5 separate regions of the Homo sapiens genome follow, and regions 1, 2, 3 and 5 are each linked to region 4. The links are contacts of gene promoters, found by promoter capture Hi-C in blood cells and fetal thymus (Javierre and others, 2016). All regions are on one chromosome and are shown on one strand. Each heading gives the region's core, a stretch centred on a gene start or on the middle of the fragment in contact. The rest is flanking DNA. Distances are from core to core; before and after follow the strand shown.

The links. The method cuts DNA at HindIII sites, captures the fragments that hold promoters and counts their contacts. A CHiCAGO score of 5 or more calls a contact.
Region 1: a fragment that was not itself captured here is called in contact with the fragment with the promoter of DUSP12 in region 4 in 1 of 17 cell types (neutrophils); the score reaches 5.6 in neutrophils.
Region 2: a fragment that was not itself captured here is called in contact with the fragment with the promoter of DUSP12 in region 4 in 3 of 17 cell types (total CD4 T cells, endothelial precursors and naive CD4 T cells); the score reaches 6.6 in total CD4 T cells.
Region 3: a fragment that was not itself captured here is called in contact with the fragment with the promoter of DUSP12 in region 4 in 1 of 17 cell types (erythroblasts); the score reaches 7.1 in erythroblasts.
Region 5: a contact is called between a fragment that was not itself captured here and the fragment with the promoter of DUSP12 in region 4, in 12 of 17 cell types (naive CD4 T cells, M0 macrophages, M1 macrophages and 9 more). The highest score is 15.2, in naive CD4 T cells.

What each region holds. Positions count from the first base shown.
Region 1 is chr1:161,417,202-161,419,901 of GRCh38, forward strand. It overlaps the pseudogene COMMD6P1. Among named protein-coding and RNA genes, the nearest start is that of TRE-TTC4-2, 3.6 kb to the right of the region's middle. The HindIII fragment of the contact is 3,388 bases long and covers 1-2,700 here.
Region 2 is chr1:162,044,895-162,047,594 of GRCh38, forward strand. No RefSeq gene overlaps it. Among named protein-coding and RNA genes, the nearest start is that of OLFML2B, 22 kb to the left of the region's middle. The HindIII fragment of the contact is 3,967 bases long and covers 1-2,700 here.
Region 3 is chr1:161,304,238-161,306,937 of GRCh38, forward strand. MPZ (myelin protein zero) reads right to left here. Exons shown (of 6, transcript NM_000530.8): 3 at 2,471-2,684; 4 at 2,092-2,227; 5 at 1,871-1,931; 6 at 498-1,740. The coding sequence ends at 1,639. Among named protein-coding and RNA genes, the nearest start is that of MPZ, 4.4 kb to the right of the region's middle. The HindIII fragment of the contact is 2,580 bases long and covers 161-2,700 here.
Region 4 is chr1:161,748,498-161,751,197 of GRCh38, forward strand. It overlaps DUSP12 (dual specificity phosphatase 12), which reads left to right and starts at 1,289. Exons shown (of 6, transcript NM_007240.3): 1 at 1,289-1,648. The coding sequence starts at 1,305. RefSeq lists enhancers at 1,088-1,597, 1,659-2,305. The HindIII fragment of the contact is 617 bases long and covers 1,068-1,684 here.
Region 5 is chr1:162,026,784-162,029,483 of GRCh38, forward strand. No RefSeq gene overlaps it. Among named protein-coding and RNA genes, the nearest start is that of OLFML2B, 4.3 kb to the left of the region's middle. The HindIII fragment of the contact is 3,406 bases long and covers 1-2,700 here.

The sequences.
Region 1 (2,700 bases), core at 190-2,689, 330 kb before region 4:
CTTCAGCCTCCTGAATAGCTGGGATTACAGGCACAAGACACCATGCCCAGCTAATTTTTGTACTTTTAGTAGAGATGAAGTTTCACCATGTTTCACCATGTTGGCCAGGCTGGTCTTGAACTTCTGACCTTAAATGATCTGCCCACCTCGGCCTCCCAAAGTGCTGGGATTACAGGTGTGAGCCACCAGCCTGGCCTCTAGTTATTTTTTACATAATGTTCAGCATACAATAAAAATTAGGAGACATGTGAAGAGAAAGGAAAATGTGACCAATGGTCAAGAGAAAAAAGAAAACAGTAGAAGCAGAAACAAATATAAGCCAATTGTTTAAGTTCACAGGCAAGAACTTTAAAATAATCACAATTTTATTTTTAAAAAATAGAGGAAAAGATGGAAAGTAGATGAGAAGAATTTCAACAGAGAATTGGAATAGAGACAAAAACTTCTAGAACAGAACCCTCTGAATGGGTTTAACAGCAAATTGGACACAGCAGGAGACAAGATTAGTGAATTCAAAGACAGATCAATAGGCTGGGCACTGTGACTCACACCTGTAATCCCAGCACTTTGGGAGGCTGAGGCGAGTGAATCAGCTGAGGTCAGGAGTTTGAGACCAACCTGACCAACATGGTGAAACCCTGTCTCTACTAAAATACAAAATTAGCCGGGCGTGGTGGTGGGTGCCTGTAATCCCAGCTACTCTGGAGGCTCAGGCAGAAGAATCGCTTGAACCCGGGAGGCGCAGGTTGCAGTGAGCCGAGATCACACCATTGCACTCCAGCCTGGGCAATGAGTGAGACTCTGGCCTCAATACAGAAAGAAAGAGAAGGGAGGGAGGGAGGTAGGAAGGAAGGAAGGGAGGAAGGAACCAACCCATATTGAAGCACACACACGAGTTGAGCCTGAGACCTTGGTCAAGAACCAAACCTAACAATACTCTGGCTAAAGAGTGAGGGGACTGTGGGCATGGGGGAATGCCTCCCCACAGATTCCCATCCACGACCCTTGGCCTGATGACCACAGCATCTCAGTAATGCTTCTGTAGTCCAGTATCATTTCTTCTTTCTGAAATACATACATACATACATACATATATATATATATATATTTATTTATTTATTTGTTTATTTTTTGAGGCAGAGTCTTGCTCTGTCACCCAGGCTGGGGTGCAGTGGCATGATCTCAGCTAACTGCAACCTCTGCCTCCCGGGTTCAAGTGATTTTCCTGCCTCAGCCTCCCAAGTAGCTGGGATTACAGGCATGCACCACCATGCCTGGCTAATTTTTGTATTTTTAGTGGAGATGGGGTTTCACCATGTTGGCCAAGCTGGTCTGGAACTCCTGACCTCAAGTGATCTGCCTGCCTCAGCCTCCCAAAGTGCTGGGATTACAGGCATGAGCCACTGCACCCGGCCTGAAATACATGTTTAAAAGAAAAATGTTGATCGTTTACTCAAAGGGGTAAATTAAGAATGGTAGTGAGCTCCTAATATCGCTAGCCACAATTCTCAAGGGAAGCAAATGGGGAGGCCAAACATCTGGTTGCTAACCTCATCAGCACCTGATGGGTAGGGAGGCTGCGCGAAGGCTGATGTCCACTGAGGAATTCTGAAATGCTCCTTAAGGGGACTAGGCCCACCCATGTTGAGAATCACTAATGTATACTTGTGTTTAATTTTTTCTCTATTTCTTCTTCTTTTTCTTTTTTTAAGAGATGTTATGCTATGCTACCCAGTCTGCTCTCAAACTCCTGGGGTCAAGCGATCCTCCTGCCTTGGCCTCCTGAGTACGTTTAATTTTGCCACGGAAACATGCAGTCTCTCAGGAATATTCTAAATCTAGAATGGGTGGATTAGCACAGTCATAGTATTAGTAATTAATAAAACTTTCCCCCACTTTGAAATCCTGAAAGTAGTTAAAATCATGGAGTTCTAGGCAGTCCGGTATTAGCAGCCCTTGACCTTTGCATTGGCAGCTGTCACCAGGTGTTTAATGTGGCTTATTAGGGAAGTCCAGAGCCAGCCAATACTTTACTGAGCTTGTAAACTCATAATCCGTTTAGATTTTTTTGTAAAATAAAAACCATATATCTATATGGTAACGAATTGGTTAATTGTAAGCCAGGAAATAAAATGTATAAACAAAAGTGAAGTGGTAACAAATTAGTTAAATGGCAGGGGGATCAAATCCAGATCTGTCAGGACAGAAGGGAATACTCACCAACTATGCTAATGAGGAAGGAGATGAATCTAAAGTCAACAACATCTCCTCTAACTGCCCACTTTTACACTGGGCCCAGATAGGTAGGAAGCATTGATTGCTCATGCCCCATTTGCTCCCAGGCCACCACCTAGTCTGACCCTTTGCTGGCAGGACAGAGCGAGAGGCCAGCATCAGAGTGGCCATTTGTGAAAATGCCAGAAACGTTGTCTACTCTCCACCCCACCCCATCTCCCACAAAACTCACCTGTGCCATGCAAGACTGTGGCAGATGGTTGGAATTCCAGGCGCTACTGCTCTTCATCCTTCTAGGGAGGCAGATGTCAGGGCAGAGGCCTGGGAAGTGTGAGGCTGCTGGATCCAAGAGTGGGGGCAGGTGGAGCAGAGGTGAGGTTTGGCCTTTTGGAAGCACTGGGTCACGAAAATCCAACCACGTGCTTTGACCAGATTCGTTTCCTGCTCAGATTCTGGATTGAGGAA
Region 2 (2,700 bases), core at 142-2,641, 300 kb after region 4:
CAAATAAGGTTTCATTCTGAGCTTCCAGTGGACATGAATTTTAGGGGACATTATTCAACCCAATATAGCTAACCAACCAAGAGTGGAGAAAACATGGAATCATAAAAAAATTTAATAAATGAGTTGATTATTAGAGAGTAGACAACCTCCTCAGGTATGAAAAACAATATAGTTAAATCTCTATCAATTTTAACTTGGCTAACTAGTTAAAATGCCCAGTTGGTGAGTGGAAGGCATGATTTGTTTATTTATGCCCATCTAGTATCCATTTTCTTCTTTTTTCTTGCTCACAGTGATCCACCTCTGTCTCAGTGATTCATTGGATGGTAACCCAAAATCCTGCTCAGAATTAAGTCATAGTTGGCTTAAACTGCTGGTGTTGGTCCCATTTTCTTGCCAGTCACTTATTTAGAGGTGAGCATTTTTGGCCAATTATTGGCCAATGAAATGTGGTGGACATGACTGAGATTTTTCTGGGAAAAGTTTTTCTTGCCTCTAACGAATACACGTTAGGGGGCCCGGTGTGGTGGCTCACGCCTGTAATCCCAGCACTTTGGGAGGCTGAGGTAGGCAGATCACCTGATGTTGGCAGATCACCCGAGGTCAGGAGTTCGAGACCAGCCTGGCCAACATGGTAAAACCCCATCTCTACCAAAAATACACACACACAAAAATTACCCGGATGTGGTGGCAGGCACCTGTAATCCCAGACACTTAGGGGGGCTGAGGCAGGAGAATCTGTTGAACCTGAGAGGCAGACGTTGCAGTGAGCTGAGATCAAGCCATTGCACTCCAGCCTGGGCAACAAGAGTGAAACTCCATCTCAAAAATAATAATAATAATAATAAAATAAGAAATATGCCTAGGAGAAGCAATCCCTTTCCTATCTCTGAGTATTTTTGTGTTTGAGTGCCATGTTTAGAATTTGAATGGCTGCAGCCATCTTGCTACCAGGAGAACCACAAAGAAGAAGAGTTGGACCTGGTGCATGATACATGGAAATTCCCAACCTCCAAACATCTTATTATAGGGAAAAATACATGCCTTTTTTTGTGAAGGCCAAAATGAATGAGGATTATCTGTTTTTGCTGCTAAAAGTATTCTAATCAATGGAGTAGGTCTACACAAGGCCTGGGTGAATAAGCCCAAATTTTCATTAATCACAACTGTATGAATGGGAGATACTTCCCATTCTAGGACTACACTCATGCATCTTTTGAGGGCCAAGAATGAACCAGAAAACTCCTACCAACATAAAGATGAAGATTGCCTGCCTTTGACAAATGTCTTAAATATTTCATATCTAGTTACGAGTTGTAATTTTTTGTGTTAATTTTCTTTTTTTTAATTTGAGATGGAGTCTTGCTGTGTCGCCAGGCTGGAGTGAAGTGGTGCGATCTCGGCTCACTGCAACCTCCGCCTCCCAAGTTCAAGCAATTCTCCTGCCTCAGCCTCTTGAGTAGCTGGGACTACAGATGCACACCACCACGCCCAGCTAATTTTTGTATTTTTAGTAGAGATGGGGTTTCACCATGTTGGCCAGGATGGTCTCAATTTCTTGACCTCGTGATCCACCTGCCTCGGCCTCCCAAAGTACTGGGATTACAGGCGTGAGCCACTGTTCCTGGCCTGTGTTAATTTTCTTTTTCTTGGTCACATATTTAGCCTACAACTTAACTGTATGGTATGGTGACTGTATCAATCACATATCTTCATATGTAAATGTCTTACAAAACATCTTTTATGTAGGTAATTGTGTAAGAGTAAGATGAGGGTAAATCTGACATTATGATAGTACTGATGTCATAATAAGGAAAAAATTTGATATTTAAATCTTCCAATCAGAATTTTTTAATCTTATATTTTCATTTTGAAAATATTCTAAAAGTCAGATGTAAGGTATTCTAGAACATATAGAATACTTCAGTGAGATTTAAAAGTGCTCATTTACATGTGCATTTATGATTATGTTGTCACCCAGTGATCCCTAAGTGACAGTGCTTGATTTTTAATGTATTGATAATAAAGTTTGATATATCCTAATGTCAAAGTGGCAATTGACCCATGACTGTTATTGTGGTCATGTTAAATTCTTTTAATAGTTTAAGGACAAAACTTTTCTTCTGCAATGATAATTTATGCTGCAACATCATTGAGTCTTCTCTTGGCATAAATGCATTATTCATATTTTTTTAAGGAATTGAAACTCCTGAATATAGTGTTGATGCCTTAAGTGCAGATTATTTTGAATTCAGCTGCGTGTGCTATTGAATGCCTTGGCATGATTCAGTTCTGCCCCCATTTTTCTCTGTCTGAACTACTAAGAAGACTCTATTCCCTGTGACTTCATTGAACTCCACTGGGCTTATATGAAGATGCAAATGCAGACACAAACCTTGAAATATGTGGCAATATTTGATTATATGTTGGTGTTCCAGATGATCCCCAAATATCCTTTTTATTGCTCTTCCTTTTAAAAATGAAACAGAAGCTCAGAAATGTGAACTAATGTTTCGAGGTGGCATAACTACTAAACAGCAGAACCATAATTTGAATTTAGGTATTTTGGCTGCAGTTACAGTGCTTTTCCCATGAGTGTTTCCCAAGGTGATATGCATACTACTGGTGATATATCCGATAATCTTAGGTGATAAGTGGGCAAACATTTTTAACAGTTTTCTAGTTAAATGTTGTTAGAAA
Region 3 (2,700 bases), core at 201-2,700, 440 kb before region 4:
AGCACTAGAAACAAATATTGAACACCTTAATATTTAGTTGTATATCAACTTACAGTTTACAAAGTTTTCCATACACAGGATCTCATTTGATTATTATAAAATCCCTAGGAATTAAGCAGGGCAGATATCATTATCTCAGTTGTTTACAAGTACATAAACAAGCTTACCAAAGTCAGGTAACTGTCCTGGGGATCACACAGCTAGAGAGTGGCTGGGATGTTTTAAAATTCAGATCTTGGTGAAGACAGATTCTGCGTTTTAACTCATGTAAAAGCAGAGACTGGCAGAGTTTACAACGTAGTATAATCTCACTGATTATTTGCTGAAGGTATGAATGTGTCTTGTGAGGCTATTTCAGAGTTCTTTCTAGTATACTATATAAGCCCACCCCAAAAAAACAAACTAAACAACTGAAGCCAAGTATGGAAGGTTGGGGATGGGATAAGGGGCAGGAATTATTCCCAGGAGGACTAGGAAATTCTAGACAAGGCAGCAGCTTCTGGAAATGTCAGTGTTTATTAAACATTTAAGGACATTTGGAGGTTTGAGAAGAAATATACAGAATGTAGAAAAATCCTAAGAATCCCCTGTGGCTGCAGTGCAGCCTCTTCCTCCCCCCCGCCCCCCCATTTCCCATTTGTTTTTCCTGCTTTTTGTTTGGTTGTTTAAAAACCATTTCTTAAGGCTCATTTGCCCCCTCCCCCACTCCCTGACCTATGAGGATCCATTCTCTCTCTCTGTCTCTCTCCTCAAGACCTGGAGTCCCAGAACAGTGCTCCAAAGTGGTCAGGGGGAACCAATGCTATACTGAAGTGTGAGGATCAGGGGCCCCTCTACTTGGGCTGGCTCTTCATTAAGGACTTAAGGGGGGCGTGAATTGCAAAAGCCACATGACGTCATTGGTCCTCAGTCATGGGTGTAAGGGCAGAGGATGAGCACAGGTAAACAAACAAAGAATGGATTAAAAAATAAAAAATAATAACCTAAATAAACCCTGAAGGAGAGTCTGATCTGGGTGCTCTGGGTATTAGCTGGGGGGACAGAGTATGGAGCTGGGCCACCTGGTAGAGGGGAGGGAGGGACGGGAGAGGAAACAGCCAGGGGGACAGGCTGGGGGATGCAGGAGATGGGAATGCCAGGTGGCCTGGACTTGAGGCAGAGGGTATCAAAGTCCCTTTCTTCTCAGTGCTCAGGTGGACAGGCACCAAACACACAGCCCCCGGGGCAGGTGAGGGGTAGGATTAGCTCCTGGGCTCCCAGAAAGCCAGGGGTGAAGGTGGGGGAGAATACAATTGCCTGGGGAATGAATTCTGGAATGAAACTTACATCTCAAAGGGAGGTGAGGGCAGGGCAGGGCGGGGGAGCAAAGAGGGAAAGCACCTAGACGGGGGTAAGAGGAGCCTAGGTCCCCCTGCTCTGGCAGGGCCTGGGGTGGGGGGGTGGCGATCACTTGTCCGAGTTCAGGCCCATCATGTTCTTGAGGGCGTTTTTGAGGCTGGTTCTGCTGGGGGACTTGACAGCAGGCCGGAGCTCCGGGCTCTGCTCATCCTTTCGTAGCTCCATCTCGATGACCATCACCTTTGGGCCTTTGGCGGACTCCACCCCTAACCCCCGATCCCCCGCCCGGCCCGCTAACCGCTATTTCTTATCCTTGCGAGACTCCCCCAGCCCCTTGGCCTTCTTCTCACTGACAGCTTTGGTGCTTCTGCTGTGGTCCAGCATTGCATACAGCACTGGCGTCTGGGGGAGGGGCGCACACATCAGTCACCGAGCGACTGGGGCTTGACTGTTCCCATCCCACCCCTCACTGCTGCCCGGCGGCTCCCAGGGTTCTCCTTCCCATCTTGTCTAGGCCCCAAGTCCCGCTAACCTGCCGCCCGCGCTTCGACGCGTCCTTTCCTGGCTTGTGCAATTTCCCCTTCTCCATAGCACTGCAAGAAGAGAGACTGCTGTACGTTTGGCCTCGCCGGAACCCCTTGCACCGCGGACACAGCTTCCTCTTCCCCTTGGCCCTCCCACCCACTGGAGTAGTCTCCGCCCAGATGGGGGATAGTGGGGAGAGGGGGAGGGGAGCTAGGCTCCGCCCCTTACCTGAGCCTCCTCTGCAGGGCCGCCTGCCTGCGTAGCCAGCAGTACCGAACCACGTAGAAAAGCAGCAGCAGCAACAGCACCACCCCGAGGACACCCCCGATCACAGCTCCCAGAACGACCCCGTACCTAGTTGGCACTAGGAGGGGTGGGAAAAGAAGTGGGAGAATGAGCAGGGCCCTGTATCTGTGGTTCCTAGTCCGAGTGTATGCCCTGCATTGAGGATGTAGGACTCCCAGCTAAAACTGCCTTCTGCCCACGCTCCCAGAGCCTGAATAAAGGTCCTTAGGCCGGGCTTTTTGCCTCTTCCCCCAACCTATCAGTCCTCCCTGATCCCCTCCCAAACTGCTTCCCATACCCTTGTCCCCATCCCTTCTCACACCTTTTTCAAAGACATACAGCGTGACCTGAGAGGTCTTGCCCACTATGTCTGGAGGGTTTTTGACGTCACAAGTGAACGTGCCATTGTCACTGTAGTCTAGGTTGTGTATGACAATGGAGCCATCCTTCCAGCGAGGGTCCCCTACCCACTGGATGCGCTCTTTGAAGGTCCCCACCTCGTCAATGTAGGGTTGTCCCTTGGCATAGTGGAAGATCTATGAGGAATGAGGG
Region 4 (2,700 bases), core at 39-2,538:
GCTGGTGACATGGGTGGTAGGAAGAATTTACCAACACAGTTGTAGGTAAAGAAAGGCAGGTTTATTAGATAAAGTATGAAAATACATTGCAAGGGTGCAACAGGCAGGTCAGCAAGAGAGAAGCTGACTGCTAGGAAACAAAGGCTTGCTGGGGATTTTGTAGAATGGTGCTTATGTTGTGGGTGGAAGAGGGCTTTGTGCAGTACTAATAATGCCAGGGTTGCAGTGAACTAACTTCCATTTTTCTATCAGCTGAGGGTCTGGTGATGGCTGGGCACAGGCAGATTGTGAGTTATTTGCACAGCAGGGCTATGTGTCCTGGACCACGAAGAAAGGCAGACTTATGGCTTGTCTGCTTTCTCCTTTTGCTTCCCTTCGTCCAGCCAGCCTGACTCCTTTTCCCTAATTAGGACTCCACACGCAAGGGTTTGTTCTGTTCCAGAATAGAGACACGTCGATGTATCTATCTTTATACCAGTACTATAGCTGCTACTTCTTGACCAATTACAGCTTTAGTATCTCTCTCACCTGTCCTCCCTATACAAAAGATATATAAAATATACTCACTGTACTGAGTATCTTCCTGCAGCATTCAGTCTGGAGCAAAGCCTGCTTCCTTCAACCCTTTCCAAAATCCCCAAATAAAAGCCCAAAATCTGTAGAGGATCTTCCTAACATCCTCGTGCTGAGATGCCCTGAAATTCTCCATAACTCATGACTGAGTAATAAAACCAACTTGCTTAATTAAAGTTGGTTTCTTGTAGTCCTGGCCGGAGGACATTGACTTACAAAAATATAGGATTAGTATCTTCAAAATAAATAGACAGTAAACATCAACAAGGATTCACACCCCAATAATGAAATTGGGCAGAAAAAGGAAAAATAATCATGAAATGCACAGTAAAGATGGCTCCATAATATTGAAAAAAATTTTACTTCAAATGCATAAAATGATGCTTCTGATTCAGCTGGTGCGACATTTATTTCACATTTGAGTTCAGCTGCTCCTGATGTCTCTTTCCTGAAAATTTCAATACTAAGAGCTCGAGAAACCCTGTATTTGGGGAAGCTTATCCTTCACCATCAACTTTGGGGGTAGGGGTCAGAGGGAACAAGGGTGGAAAGGCCGCGCTGAATGGGGCCGAAGCTCCGCCCCTCAGCGATAAGTCCAGATTCCTGCGGCCGACGTGGTCCTCCGAGGGAGCAGCAGAGCCGCCGAGGCTGGCGAGTCCCAGGGGAAGGATGTTCTAGCCGGAGTCTACTCGATGGTAGGGCAGGAAGCCGCCTTGTCTCTGGGCGCGGCCATGTTGGAGGCTCCGGGCCCGAGTGATGGCTGCGAGCTCAGCAACCCCAGCGCCAGCAGAGTCAGCTGTGCCGGGCAGATGCTGGAAGTGCAGCCAGGATTGTATTTCGGTGGGGCCGCGGCCGTCGCGGAGCCAGATCACCTGAGGGAAGCGGGCATCACGGCCGTGCTAACAGTGGACTCGGAGGAGCCCAGCTTCAAGGCGGGGCCTGGGGTCGAGGATCTATGGCGCCTCTTCGTGCCAGCGCTGGACAAACCCGAGACGGACCTACTCAGCCATCTGGACCGGTGCGTGGCCTTCATCGGTCAGGCCCGCGCTGAGGGCCGTGCGGTGTTGGTGCACTGGTGAGTGGCCGGGTCAGTGGGTGACGTGCCCCGCCAAGCTTCCAGCCGGCCCCCGTCGCCCCTTACCTTCCGAGGCCGTCGGGAGGACAAGAGCGCGGTCATGCCGCGTGAACCTCCTCCCGCTGCCTCCCGCAGGAGGCGTGTTTCCAAGAGAGGAGGAGGGTTGAGGCGGGCCCCTGGTGTGTGCAGGCTTTCATTCATTCATGCTTTAGTTGGTTCTTCCTGCAGCAGCAGAGGGCGGGGGAGGTGTCATCTGATAAATGACAAATTACCTACACCCTAAGGAGTTTACAGCTCTGTTGGAGAAGCTAGACACCCACCCCGATTATTGTAATGCAGATTAGGTTGCTTGGTGTCTTGTAAACGGGATTTACAAAGATTTAGGGTTAAATGTTTTTGTTTGGGATGGGTGGCGGGTGGTTGATGAAGAGATGAATTGGTTTGGATCTAAAGGATCCCTGGGCTTTGCCTAGGGAGGAGATGGTTGCAGCAAAGACAAAAAGAAAATGGGAATCCCGCAGGGCGCGGTGGCTCACGCCTGTAATCCCAGCACTTTGGGAGGCAGGAGGATCACAAGGTGAGGAGTTCGAGATCAGGCTGGCTAATATGGTGAAACCAAAAATACAAAAATTAGCCGGGCGTGGTGGCTCTCGCCTGTAGTCCCAGCTACTCGGGAGGCTGAGGCAGGAGAATCACTTGAACCTGGGAGGCGGAGGTTGCAGTGAGCCGAGGTCATGCCACAGCACTCCAGCCTGGGCAACAGAGCGAGACTCCATCCCTCCCCCCAAAAAAAGAAAATGGGAATCCCTAAGCAGTTCTTGGTTGGATTGGAGTATAATAATCGTTTAAATTTATTGAGCACATAAAAGAAGATAGTGATGAAATCAAAAGAAGTCTGGGACCAGATTTTGAGGTCCCTGAATGCTAAGATGAAAGGAGATTGGATTTGTTTTTGTTTTGTTTTATTTATTTTTATTTTGATATAGGGTCTTGCTCTGTCACCCAGGCTACAGTGTAGTAGCGTAATTACGGCTCACTGCAGTCTCAACCTC
Region 5 (2,700 bases), core at 83-2,582, 280 kb after region 4:
GTTTGCAGCAGAGAAAGAATTTGATGATTGCAGGGCACCACGTCAGGAGATGGGAGGAGACCCTTGAATCCATCTCTCCAAGGAGCTCTGGGCTGGCGTTTTAATTTAAGGGGATTGTGGAGAGTGAGTGGCTAAAAAATTGAGGTTATTAATTGGTTGGGCCAAGACGATGGAACAAAGTTCTATCATCAGGATGTGGAAACTGCCTTCTTTGGTGAGTCAGGATCTCATGGGGTCCTTCAAACTAGCTGAGTCAGTAGCTTCATCAGTATGCAGGACCCAAAAGAGTATCTCAAAGGGAAAACATAATGTTTCATAATGTTCAAGTTGTTTTCTATAGAACAGTTAAGGGGCTTTATAATCTTTTAACAGGATCTATGTGATTCTGAGGCAATAGGCACAGAGTAACTATGAGGAAACAGGTCAGAGAGCAAGTAGACCTCACGATTACTGCTGAATGTGCTGTGAACTTGGTTTATTTTCATTTCTTCCCTTTCCTTCTTCCCTGGTTAATTTTATAAAGTTTATAGGGGCTGTTTCAAAAGTGCCAGGAGCTGTGGCAGCCATCTTATGACCATGAGTCCTTTCTCTTATCTAACTAAAATATATTTCCTTTAGGGTCTACTTTTAAAGTCACCTTTTAATGTCCAGTCCTACAGTCCTACACAGAATATGTCTAAGGACTTTCTCACGGAGAGTTTCATTCCTTTCACTTAAAGATAAATAGTTAAGTACTGGCCGGGCATGGTGGCTCACGCCTGCAATCCCAACACTTTGGGAGGCCGAGGCAAGTGGATTACTTGAGGTCAGGAGTTCAAGACTAGCCTGGCCAACATGGCAAAACCCTGTCTCTGTTAAAAATACAAAAATTAGCTGGGCCTGGTGGCACACGCCTGTAATCCCAGTTACTTGGAAAGATAAGGCAGAAGAATCACTTGAACCGGGGAGGCAGAGGTTGCAGTGAGCCGAGATCACACCAATGCACTCCAGCCTGGGCAACAGAGAAAGACTCTGTCAAAAAAAAAAAAAAAAAAAAAAAGGTTAAGTACCTTCTAAATATCCTCTTTCTCAACATCACTAGCCCACTTTCTTCATCTTTTATCTCCATTATATTCAACTGTTTCTCAAACCACATGGCCTTCCAAACTCTTCATTATTTTGGTTATTTTCTCTCTAGAAAGACTCCAGTTTGAGTAGATATTAGAACCTATTGAAACAATTTGTTCTTTTTTTTTCTGGGCACTGTGCTTTTATTAATGCAGCCTAAGATTACCTTAGTTTTGGCAGCCAGATTGCACCAACGACTCACACTGATTTATCTTTTAAGTGTAGTTTTTAAATTTATTTTTGTGTGAATTTTTTACTGGTTTCCTCCATTCTGTGCTTTCCAGCTATGTTCTCTCTTTTTTTTTAATCCAAGTATAGGTGTTTACATTTTTACTGTAACAGTGTGATGATTTTGGTCCATTTTTTCATCCTGTTGAAATATTGCTATTTTTGCTTTTGTCCTGGTTTTGCATAATTTCCAAATTCACTAAGCATAGTTTCTGTCTTAGTTCAAATGATTAATTTTAAAAAGCCATCTTCCTTCAGATAGGGCCATATTCTAGAGCTCTACCTCCATAATAGGAAAAGTCTCTCCTTATTGATGTTAACCGTTTTGGTGTATGACTGTTCAGGCAGTCATGGGTGTTGGTGCCTAGTCCACATGTCTTCATCATGTCTACAAGCATTTCTTGAGAGACTTTTATCACTGTCTTTCAGAAATCAAGATACACTGCTCATGGCATTGCTTCTACCTGCCTGCCTGGCAACCTGAACTGATGATTCTGTGATGAGCTTGGTTTGGCTTTAGCAAATTGGGTTAAGTGCTTTTTACTTGTGTTAAAAAAAAAAAAAACATAGCTGGAAAGCACAGGATAGAGGAAACCGGCATAAAATTCACATAAAAATCCCTGCATCTTTTGCTCAGAGCCTATGAATTCCACGTCACTGGATCCTCGCATCATGGTGTAAAATAAGTCTTGCCCTCCCTGGTTAACAGATGAAGTCATTGAAGCACCAACACAGTGATATGTATGATGGCGACTCTGTACTGAGTGCTTCCCATGTGCCAGGCATCATTTGACGGTCAGAAATCCCCTGAGTCAGTATCATTTCCTCTTACAAATGAGGAAACAGGTTTAGAGACGGACAGACTGTGGAAATGTTCCAAGAACTGGGTCTCAGAAAGCCGTAAGTGTGCCACTTCATCTATCTTAGACCCTGGACCTCACCAGTTGTGGCTGGCTAGCAGGTTGTTGAATTCTGGGGATCCCTCAGCAACCACAACCACCATCCCTCACGAGCCAGTTTGCATCTGGCAAGAGCATCTGTTTTCCCGTTTACCTAGGAGCCTCCTGACTTTGCTCTGAAATGTCTGTCTGTTGAAAATTAAGGCTTCATTTGCCAGGTGGGGCCAAGGTGGCTAGAAATGGCCTGCCACCTTTGTGTGTAATTGAGAAAATGCACCTGCCCCACGGCAGCAGAATCAAAGAGCAAGGCAAAGTCCCACGAGCAACATCATTCTGCCATCTCCTTTCCCTGGCTCGCTGCAGAGTGGGAGCTGTGCCAGGGAACTGCCATAAAAATGCTGGAAAGGAATGATGGAAAGCACAACTGAAAATGAGGTCTTTTTTCCCCTGGTCACCCTGCTTTGCT